3 separate regions of the Homo sapiens genome follow, and all the other regions are linked to region 1. The links are contacts of gene promoters, found by promoter capture Hi-C in human tissues and cell types (Jung and others, 2019). All regions are on one chromosome and are shown on one strand. Each heading gives the region's core, a stretch centred on a gene start or on the middle of the fragment in contact. The rest is flanking DNA. Distances are from core to core; before and after follow the strand shown. Region 1 holds the start of OPRD1 (opioid receptor delta 1). Region 2 overlaps OPRD1 (opioid receptor delta 1). Region 3 overlaps YTHDF2 (YTH N6-methyladenosine RNA binding protein F2).

Region 1 (3,311 bases), core at 485-2,984:
AGGTAGGAAAAAACTTGGCTTGGAGGGTTAGGGAGGGGACCAGAATTCCAATAAAGTAGCCCTCCTTCTTCCTATCCCAATTTCTCTCTGCTGGCACTAGAAAAGTTTCTGAGTACCAGGCCCTTTGGGAAAGGGAGAGAGTTTTGGCAGCAGGTGACCACAGCAAAAATCTTTCTGATAAGTCCTTAGGTGGTTGAGTGGGAAAGCCCTGGGGTGGGGGGCTTGCTGTAGTTGGTAGAAGTGGCTGGACAGCAGCTAAGTGGGGTGGAGAAAATGGAGAAGAGGGTGAGCTTGGGAATTCTGGCTTTGCTTTTTTCTGGGAAAGGGTAGGAGCCTTGCACATATATGGATGATTCAAGCTAGAGGGTGAGATGAGGGAGAGCTCCTTGTCCAGCCACACACAGATCCAAGAGCATTGCCCCAGAGCCTAGAGCTCAGAACCCCTAATATTGTTCCACTCCAGTTCCCTTTGGGATCTTTATTATCCAAAAAGTATTTCTTGAGCACCTGCTGTGACCCCAGCCCTCTCCTGGATGCAGGGGTCAATCAGACCTGGTCCCTTTAAGGAGGGAGACCAGTTCGGATAGAAATAATTACTATATGGGATAATTTAGTGCTGAGCACTAAATCTGTAACATGGGGACAATAATAATAGAAGCTACACCAAAGTGTTGGTGCATGGATAAAGTGCTTATCACAGTGCCTGGAGCAAAGTAATGCTTGGTAGAATGTTCTGGAAAGGCTAGGCACCCCAAGAAGAAGGATGGCTCTAATCTGGAATGGTTAGGTCTTGGAAGGGGTGTGGCAAGGATGACTTAGCCAAGTGCCCCCCTTCTATCTGCTCGCACTGCAGCCAGAGTGCTCCTTAAGGTGGTCTTCAAGAGCCTGCCCACCACCTCATCGCCCCCTCACTTCCTGCCTTCTCCTCTTCCTGGCTTCCTTTCAGTCCCTCTGCTTCCTTTATCCGGAATCCTCTTCCCTTGTTACTTCCTTAAGTTAGTTCTTCCCCAAACTTCACACCTCACCTCAAGTGTCGTTTCCCCAGGGAAGCTGTCCTGACCCCTGGGTTTTGTAGACCCTGCCACTTTCTCAATTCGTACCTATATCTTAATGTCATTTTAGGGTTGCTCGCTCTCTCTCCTGCACTGGGCTGTAAGCCCCAGGAAGCAGAGGCTGCATCTGGTTTTGTGTACTAGAGGGTCCCCCCAAATACCCGGCTCTTCTATTAGGCACCCTCAGAATTTTTGTTGAGCGAATGAATGGGGTGCAAGAAAGGCACGGATAATATAGGTTATTTACGGAGCATGTAACTGTCCGCAGGGCACTGCTCTAAGCTCTTTGTTCGAATCATTTTATTCAATCTCCCCAACCACCCTCTGAGGGAGGTGGTACGATTTTCCTCATCTCACAGACAAAGAGAATGAAGCTGAGGGAGGTTAAGTGACTTACACAAGGTCACTCCGCCTGTTAGTGCAGGGGCGGGAGGCGGGATCCACACCCAGGTCCCTCTGACACCAAAGTGGCAAGGGGGTGGGAGGGGAGTCCAGGTTGGGACGGGGTCGCACTCGAGCCGGCGGAGCATCCCTAGGGAGGGGGCGGGAGGCCTCCCCTGCCCAGCTCCGAGCCGGTGGTGCAGCGTCCGCCCCCGGTCGCGGGCGCAGACTGGCGGCCGCCTCCGGGCCACGTGGTGCGCGCGGCGGGCGCGTCCGAGGAGCCTGCGGCTGCTCCTGGCTCACAGCGCTCCGGGCGAGGAGAGCGGGCGGACGCCGGGGGCTGGGCCGGTGCGGGCGGCGAGGCAGGCGGACGAGGCGCAGAGACAGCGGGGCGGCCGGGGCGCGGCAGCCGGCGGCGTCGGGGCCGCGGCCTCTGCCTTGCCGCTCCCCTCGCGTCGGATCCCCGCGCCCAGGGCGCACGGTGGAGAGGGACGCGGCGGAGCCGGCCGGCAGCCATGGAACCGGCCCCCTCCGCCGGCGCCGAGCTGCAGCCCCCGCTCTTCGCCAACGCCTCGGACGCCTACCCTAGCGCCTGCCCCAGCGCTGGCGCCAATGCGTCGGGGCCGCCAGGCGCGCGGAGCGCCTCGTCCCTCGCCCTGGCAATCGCCATCACCGCGCTCTACTCGGCCGTGTGCGCCGTGGGGCTGCTGGGCAACGTGCTTGTCATGTTCGGCATCGTCCGGTGAGTCCGCTGCGGGCCGGCGCCGCAGGGCTGGAGCCCGGGGTGAGGGTGGGGATCACGAACTTGAGACCCCAAGCCCGTTCCCTGGACTCCCCGCGCCTCCGCATTTCCTGCAGGGGCACCTGGGGCCCAGCGAGAGGCGAGGCCACTTACATCGAGGGGAACACAGGAATGTGTGTCATCGTGTGTATGTGTGTGTGTGGTGCGGGGGGGGGAGTGCGCCGCGGTTGACTAAATTACATTTGATCATCTGTTGGCATCCCCTTGCTTCTTTGTGGGACAGTTTGGCGTCAGTTTGTGTGTCTGTCACAGTTTGTGAGTGGATGGTTGTGACAGTACAACTGTATGTTTGGACGTCGGAAACATGCCCATGGGGTGGGCAGAGCTGCTCTGAGGTGCCGCGGGCCTTTGGGGAGACCGGTGTGAGGGCACCGTGCAGGCAGGGCGGACAGGAGGGTGCTGGGTGTCAGCACCTCGCCGTGGGGCCCTTACCAAGTCATATTTGGTGCTCATCTGTTGGTGTGAGCTTGTCCCTAACGGTCAGTTTGTGATTCTGTCTGAATGTAACAATGTGACTGTTGTTTCTTGTCAAGCTCTTGAAACCCCGAGGGCGGCAGAGCATCCGGAGTGGCCGTCGTCCCTGTGTTTGTGCAGCTGTGTGTGCCTTTGCCAGTGATTCCTGGATAACATGGGCGACAGCTGTGGGCCGCCAACCGGTTCTCTGTTCCCTTCGCCAGTGCCCATCTGGTCAGGAATTCTGAATAGGATTCAGAGAAGACTCACGCCCTCCTCACAAATGCCCTCTCCCATTTTCTCTTTGCCTCCTCTAACAGTCTTTTCTTCTGCCAGAGGCAGCAGAGGTTGGTCTGGGCGGGAGTGGATTTTGAGTTTTCATCCCAGGAAGTGAGGTGCTCTTCTTGGAGTTTATGGAGAGTGCTGGGACCTTCTCAGAGAGCCTAAGACGTCAGCTTGCCCCAGAAGTAGCCCTCCTGATACAGCCCCACAAGCTCAGACATGGCCAGTAAGGGTTGAGAGGAAAATTTCCATCTTTAAAACAACAAAGATGCCCTCGTATTTGCTGTTAGTTGAAAATGGGTCCTTCATGCTGGTGGACCAAGGACATGGCCCTAAACCTC
Region 2 (3,449 bases), core at 287-2,786, 37 kb after region 1:
CCCAAAGTGCTGGGATTACAGCCGTGAGCTACCGCGCCCAGCCGAGCCTGTTTGCATTTCTGACCTGAGGACACCTCAGAGGTGACAGGACCAGGGCAGAGGTCCAGCCCAAATTGACATGAGTGCACTTAAATGGAAGGGCCCAGGTTCTTTGACGTTGTACATGTACCAGCTGAGGATCAAATGGCATGTGTTATTGGGAGAAGCAGTCTCTGTGGACATGGATACTGAAAGAATAATAAAGGCTGGGCACAATGGCTCAGGCCTGTAATCCCAGCACTTTGGGAGACTGAGGTGGGTGGATTGCTTGAGCCCAGGAGTTTGAGACCAGCCTGGACAACATGGTGAAACCCTGTCTCTACAAATAATTTAAAAATTAGCCAGGTGTGGTGGTGTGCACCTGTAAACACAGCTACTTGGGAGACTGAGGTAGGATCGCTTGAGCCCAGAAGGCCAAAGCTACAGTGAGCTATGATTGCACCACTGCACTCCAGCATGGGCAACAGGGTGAGAACCTGCCTCAAAAATAAATAAATAAAAATAAATAAATAAAACCAGAAAATCAAGTGTTGTGTTGGGCTTAGGGCTCTCATATGTAAACTGCAGAATAAAGCCAAAAACAAAAAACAAAAAAAACCCAGTTATTGGAAAAAAAATTTGCCAGGCACGGTGGCTCATGCCTGTAATCCCAGCACTTTTGGGGGCCAAGGCAGGTGAATCATGAGGTCAGGAGTTCCAGACGAATCTGGCCAAGATGGTGAAACCCTGTTCCCTACTAAAAATACAAAAATTAGCCGGGCGGGATGGCGGGTACCTGTAATCCCAAGCTACTCAGGAGGCTGAGAAAGGAGAATCGCTTGAACCTGGGAGGCGGAGGTTGCAGTGAGCCGAGATCGTGCCACTGCACTCTAGCCTGGACAGAGCAAGACTCCGTCTAAAAAAAAAAAATGACAGCAAGAGAAACCCCAATACCATCACGTTGGGAGTTAGGGCTTCAGTATATGAATTTGAGGGAACTGAATTCAGTTCATAGCACACCTCCTCAGAGAAGCCATTGTTGACCTTCTAATCTAAGCCAGGGTCCCTCCACACTCCCCAGCCTGTCACCCCCACTAGGCAGTGTCCATCAATATACTCCGTTCTTATCCTTCATGGCATCTTGGTAATAGCAGGTAACTGTTCATTAATTAATGCAGCAGTTTGTTCAATGTCTGCCCCCTCCCTAAGGTCACAGATTTCAAGAGGCCAGACTGTCGCCATTACTCCTAGATCACTTATTCAGTGCCTGGCACAGTTCAAGTGTCCACTTAATACCTGTTAGATGAGTGAGCAAACCCCAGTTTATAGTAAGTTCACATTCTTTTTCACTGTGAGAGGTGGGGAAGGAAGGAAGATAACAAGTACTGAGTGGTTACCAGATGTTGGCACTTAGACTGAGTTCAATACCAGCTCTGCCACTTACTGGTCATATGACCTTGGATAAATCACCTCGCCTCTTGTGTCTCAGTTTACCTTCTCTAAGAGATGTCAATACATATTTGGACCACGAGAAACAACTGGAAGAGGAATGACAGCAGGGGTGAGGTGTGGGACAGAAAACAGGGGCAAGAGGATGATTGTCTAGAGGGAGTACTGGGACTGTTAGGCACCCCCATCTTTGTATCCTGCACAACCAGATGGCTACCCTCCACTCTGCAAGAAGGCAAGGTTTTTTCTTTTCCTGGAGAAGTTAACATGGAGGAAGTCTGGACTCAGGGCCAGCAGACACAGAAAGGGTCAGGACAAGATACCAAAGGTAAATGGGGAGCAGGAGGCCAGGCACGGTGGCTCATGCCTGTAATCCCAGCACTTTGGGAGGCTGAGGTGGGAGGATCACTTGAGCCCAGGAGTTGGAGACCAGTCTGAGCAACATAGTGAGACCCTCATCTCTATTTTAATTTTTTTTTTAATGGGGAGATGGGGGGACTCCCGGGCCCTTTCTCCAGCTCTGCCAACAGAATTCTGGCAGCCAGAGGTATGCAACCCGGGTGAGAGATGGGGAGATTATTTTCTGAAGGCCTGAAGGCCAGAGAAGAGACCTACGGAAATTGATATTTACATGTGCCTCAGTGTAAAAGCCAGATCATCACTCAGTTCCCCTACAGTGAAGCCCACCAGTTGACAGAGCCCTCACACTGATACACATACACACACACACATGCACACACACACACGCACACACAGGGGCACACACACGTGCCCACGCACACGTGCACACGCACGGAGCTGCCAGTTATTTAGTGCTTCATTTAAAAATCAGCGTTTAATTATATTATATATCACCAGATACTTGAAGGAATTCTCCAGGATAAGAGAGGAAGGCTAAAGCAGATGAAGGAACAAAAATGTTTGAAGCAAGTAAAAGATGCAGAGAGCAGAAGAAAATACTAAACAAGGCTTCTTAGCATCCTCGGAGAGTTAAGAGAAGGTATCATGTCCCTGAAATAAGATACTATAAGTGCTATATGAAAAAGGAATAACAAGAGAAGAAGAAAGGGCACTGGAAAAATAAAACATGAGAGTCAAACTTTTTTTTTTTTTTTTTTTTTTGAGACGGAGTCTCGCTCTGTCGCCCAGGCTGGAGTGCAGTGGCGCGATCTCGGCTCACTGCAAGCTCCGCCTCCCAGGTTCACGCCATTCTCCTGCCTCAGCCTCCAGAGTATCTGGGACTACAGGTGCCCGCCACTACGTCTGGCTAATTTTTTTGTATTTGTAGTGGAGACAGGGTTTCACTGTGTTAGTCAGGATGGTCTCAATCTTCTGACCTCGTGATCTGCCCACCTCGGCCTCCCAAAGTGCTGGGATTACAGGCTTGAGCCACGGCGCCCAGCTGAGAGTCAAACTTTTTAAAAAGACAGGGGCCAGGCATGATCTCTTGTGCCTGTAATCCTAGAACTTTGGGAGGCCAATGTGTAAGGAACACTTGAACCCAGGAGTTCGAGACCAGCCTAGGCAACATAGGGAGACTGCATCTCTACAAATTTTATTTTTTTGAGACGGAGTTTCACTCTTGTTGCCCAGGCTGGAGTGTAGTGGCACAATCTCAGCCCACCGCAACCTCCACCTCCTGGGTTCAAGCGATTCTCCTGCCTCAGCCTCCAGAGTAGCTGGGATTACAGGCACGCTCCACCACGCCTGGCTAATTTTGTATTTTTAGTAGAGATGAGGTTTCTCCATGTTGGTCAGGCTGGTCTCCAACTCCTAACCTCAGGAGATCCACCCACCTCAGCCTCCCCAAGTGCTGGGATTACATGCGTGAGCCACTGTGCCCAACCTAAAAAATTTTAATTAGCTAGGCATGATGGTGCACCTGCGACCCCAGCTACTCAGGAGTCTGAGGTGGGAGGATTGATTGAGCCTAGGAGGTTGAGGCTGCAGTGAGCTGTGATCACACGAGTGCACTCCAGCCT
Region 3 (3,141 bases), core at 115-2,614, 58 kb before region 1:
ATTGCTTGAGTCCAGGAAATGAAAGCTGCAATGAGCTGTGATCATGCCACTGCACCCCAGCCTGGGTGACAGCAGGAGACTGTCCCTAGAAAAAAAAATTTTTTTGAGGAAATATTCTAATATTTGAAAAACTATTACCCAGTTTAGCAAAGAAGTTGCTCAAAACATGTTTCATGTTTGTATATTGGAACTTACACCTGGAGAGCCACTGAGTCTCTAACCCCGAAGCTCATGGACTACTCCATGATCTATGAAGTTTGCCAGATAGAAAAGTAGAGAAATGGCTAGGTGCAGTGGCTCATGCCCGTAATCCTCGCACTTTGGGGAGGCTGCAGCAAGAGAATCACTTGAACCCAGGAGTTTGAGACCAGCCTAGGCAACATAATGAAATCCTGCCTCTCCAAAAAAAAAAAAAAAAAAAAAAAAAAAAAAAAAAAAAAAATCAGCCAGGTGTGATGAGGCACACCTGTAGTCCTAGTTGCTCAGGAGGCTGAGACAGGAGGATTGCTTGAGCCCGGGACGTCAAGTCTGCAGTGAGTCATGATGGTACCACTGTACTCCAGTCTGGGCACAGTGAGACCCTGTCTTCCAAAAAATGGCATTCTAGTAAGAGCATGTTAAAAACATAGTCTTGAGAATGCTTATGGTATGTTTTCAGAATGAGAAGTTTAATGTGGTCTAGAATGGTAAGTGATAACGCTGGAGAGATTGGTTGGGCAAGTATATGAAGAGTTTCAGGATTTTATTCTTTTTTTTTTTTTTTTTCTGAGACAAAAATCTCGCTTTGTCCCCCAGGCTGGAGTGCAATGGCGCGATCTTGGCTCGCTGCAGCCTCCCCCTCCCAGGTTCAAGCGATTCTCCTGCCTCAGCCTCCCGAGTAGCTGGGATTACAGGTGCCTGTCACCACGCCCAGCTAATTTTTGTATTTTTAGTGGTGACAGGGTTTCATCATGTTGGCTAGGCTGGTCTCAAACTCCTGACCTCAGGTGATCTGCCTGCCTTGGCCTCCCAAAGTGCTGGGATCACAGGTGTGAGCCACTGCGCTCGGCCTAGGATTTTATTCTTTACCTGTGTTTTAGTTTGGTTGTAAGGGAGGGTAGTTAATTAGGGAATAACAGTTTGGAGGATGGGAAGGATGAAACACTTACTGAGCATTGACCTTGTTAAGCACCATGCTAGGTACTTTCATAGCCTTACTTTAATCCCCATACCAACCTGGGAGGCAGTATCCTGTATTTATAGATCAACAAATGGAAGCTTAGGAAAGCAACTTATCAAAACATCTATGAGGCTGGGTGAGTTGGCTCACGCCTCTAATTCCAGCACTTTGGGAGGCCAAGGTTGGCAGGTCATTTGAGGCCATGAGTTTGATACCAGCCTGGCCAACATGGCGAAACACTGTCTCTACTAAAAATACAAAAAAATTAGCCGGGCGTGGTGACGGGCGCCTGTAGTCCCAGCTACTCAGGAGGCTGAGGCAGGAGAATGGTGTGAACACTGGAGGCGGAGTTTGCAGTGAGCTGAGATAGCGCTACTGCACTCCAGCCTGGGCGAAAGAGCGAGACTGTGTCTCAAAAAAAAAATTGGCCGGGCGCGGTGGCTCATGCCTGTAATCCCAGCACTTTGGGAGGCTGAGGTGGGTAGTTCGCAAGGTCAGGAGTTCAAGACCAGCCTGGCAACATGGTGAAACCCCATCTCTACTAAAAAATTAGCTGGGCGTGGTGGTGGGTGCCTGTATTCAGGGGGCTGGGGCAGGAGAATCACTTGAAACCAGAAGGCGGCAGTTGCAGTGAGCCGAGATTGCTCCACTGCACTCCAGCCTGGGCAATGAGAGCAAAACTTCGTCTCAAACAAACAAAAAAATTAGCCAAGAGTGGTGGTGTGTGCCTATAGTCCTATAGTCCCAGCTACTCAGGGAGCTGAGGGATGAGAATCACTTGAACCTGGGAGGCAGAGGTTACAGTGAGCCGAGATCGCAACACTGCATTCCAGCCTGGGTGACAGCTCAAAAAAAAAAAAAAAAAAAAAGGGGTGGGAGATGGCTCAGAGACTAAACGAGATGCTTTTACAGTATTCTGGGGAAAAAAAGATGATGAGGGCCTGAACCAGGACAGTGGGAACGGGAAACTGGATATGAAGAATGTGGTAGACATATTTGTTGACTAGTTTTTCAAAAATTAAAGATGATGAGAGGAGCAGCAGTTTAGGGTTAGGATTTGGGGTTGTATTGGCTTTTGGAAATAGTTTCAGGTGCCTGTGATAGTAGCAGCAGCCAGGTGATAGTAGGCAGCTGGGAATCTGGAGCTCAGATTGTTGACAGGAATTTGAATTTTCAACCCTCAGGATAGGTAAAGGCATGGAAGAGTTTGACTTTTCAAAGATTCTTGTAATAAGAATGGCTAACAGTTATTGAATGCTCTGTACAGTGTCTAGCATACAGTTGTCTTGAATATATATTTAAATGTATGTTCATTTAATTCTTGTATCCTTGTGAGGTAGGTATAAGTAGCTCAGTTTTACTGATGAAAACATTAAAACACAGAAAAGAGTAAATAACTTTGCAAAGGCACATGAGATACGAAAGTAAAGCTGGTGTTCTAATTCTGCAGCGTGGTTCTAGAGCCAACACGAGTGAGAGAAAAGGACTATGGAAAAAGTTCCCCAGAAATAACAAAATTTGAAGAATAAAGAGGGAGCAAGTGAAAGAGATTGAGAGAGAATAGTTTGAGTTTCAGAAAGAGAACAAGGAAGGGGCTATTCAGGTTGAGTATTCCTAATTTGAAAATCTGAAATGCCCCAAAGTCTGAAACTGAGTGCACACATGACACTGAAGAAAATGTTCATTGGAGCATTTCCTATTTTGGATTTTCAGATTAGGGTTGCTCAACCAGTATGTATCTACAAATATTCAAAAAATCTGAAATCCAAAACATTTCTTACCCCAAGAATTTCAGATAGGGGATACACAGCCTGTATGGAACTTCAAGCAGTATGGTAGAGTACACTTAACTCAGAGGCTGCAGAGAGGTAACAGATGACTGCAGATGCCAGTGATGTCTGTTGAATAAAAAGTTGCTTTGCTATTAGAGACTTGAAAGTTTTGATCTCCGTACTTCATTCAAAAGACTCTGCATGTTTCTT

What was found. The method cuts DNA at HindIII sites, captures the fragments that hold promoters and counts their contacts. A contact is called where the count stands out against the background at its distance.
Region 2: a fragment that was not itself captured here is called in contact with the fragment with the promoter of OPRD1 in region 1 in 2 of the 25 tissues and cell types used here (adrenal gland and aorta).
Region 3: a contact is called between a fragment that was not itself captured here and the fragment with the promoter of OPRD1 in region 1, in 1 of the 25 tissues and cell types used here (neural progenitor cells).

Annotation. Positions count from the first base shown.
Region 1 is chr1:28,810,436-28,813,746 of GRCh38, forward strand. OPRD1 (opioid receptor delta 1) reads left to right here and starts at 1,735. Exons shown (of 3, transcript NM_000911.4): 1 at 1,735-2,175. The coding sequence starts at 1,949. The HindIII fragment of the contact is 21,122 bases long and covers 1-3,311 here.
Region 2 is chr1:28,847,309-28,850,757 of GRCh38, forward strand. The region is part of intron 1 of OPRD1 (opioid receptor delta 1); the gene reads left to right. Among named protein-coding and RNA genes, the nearest start is that of OPRD1, 37 kb to the left of the region's middle. The HindIII fragment of the contact is 8,802 bases long and covers 1-3,449 here.
Region 3 is chr1:28,752,957-28,756,097 of GRCh38, forward strand. All of the region lies in intron 4 of YTHDF2 (YTH N6-methyladenosine RNA binding protein F2), which reads left to right. Among named protein-coding and RNA genes, the nearest start is that of YTHDF2, 18 kb to the left of the region's middle. RefSeq lists an enhancer at 1,555-2,054. The HindIII fragment of the contact is 8,261 bases long and covers 1-3,141 here.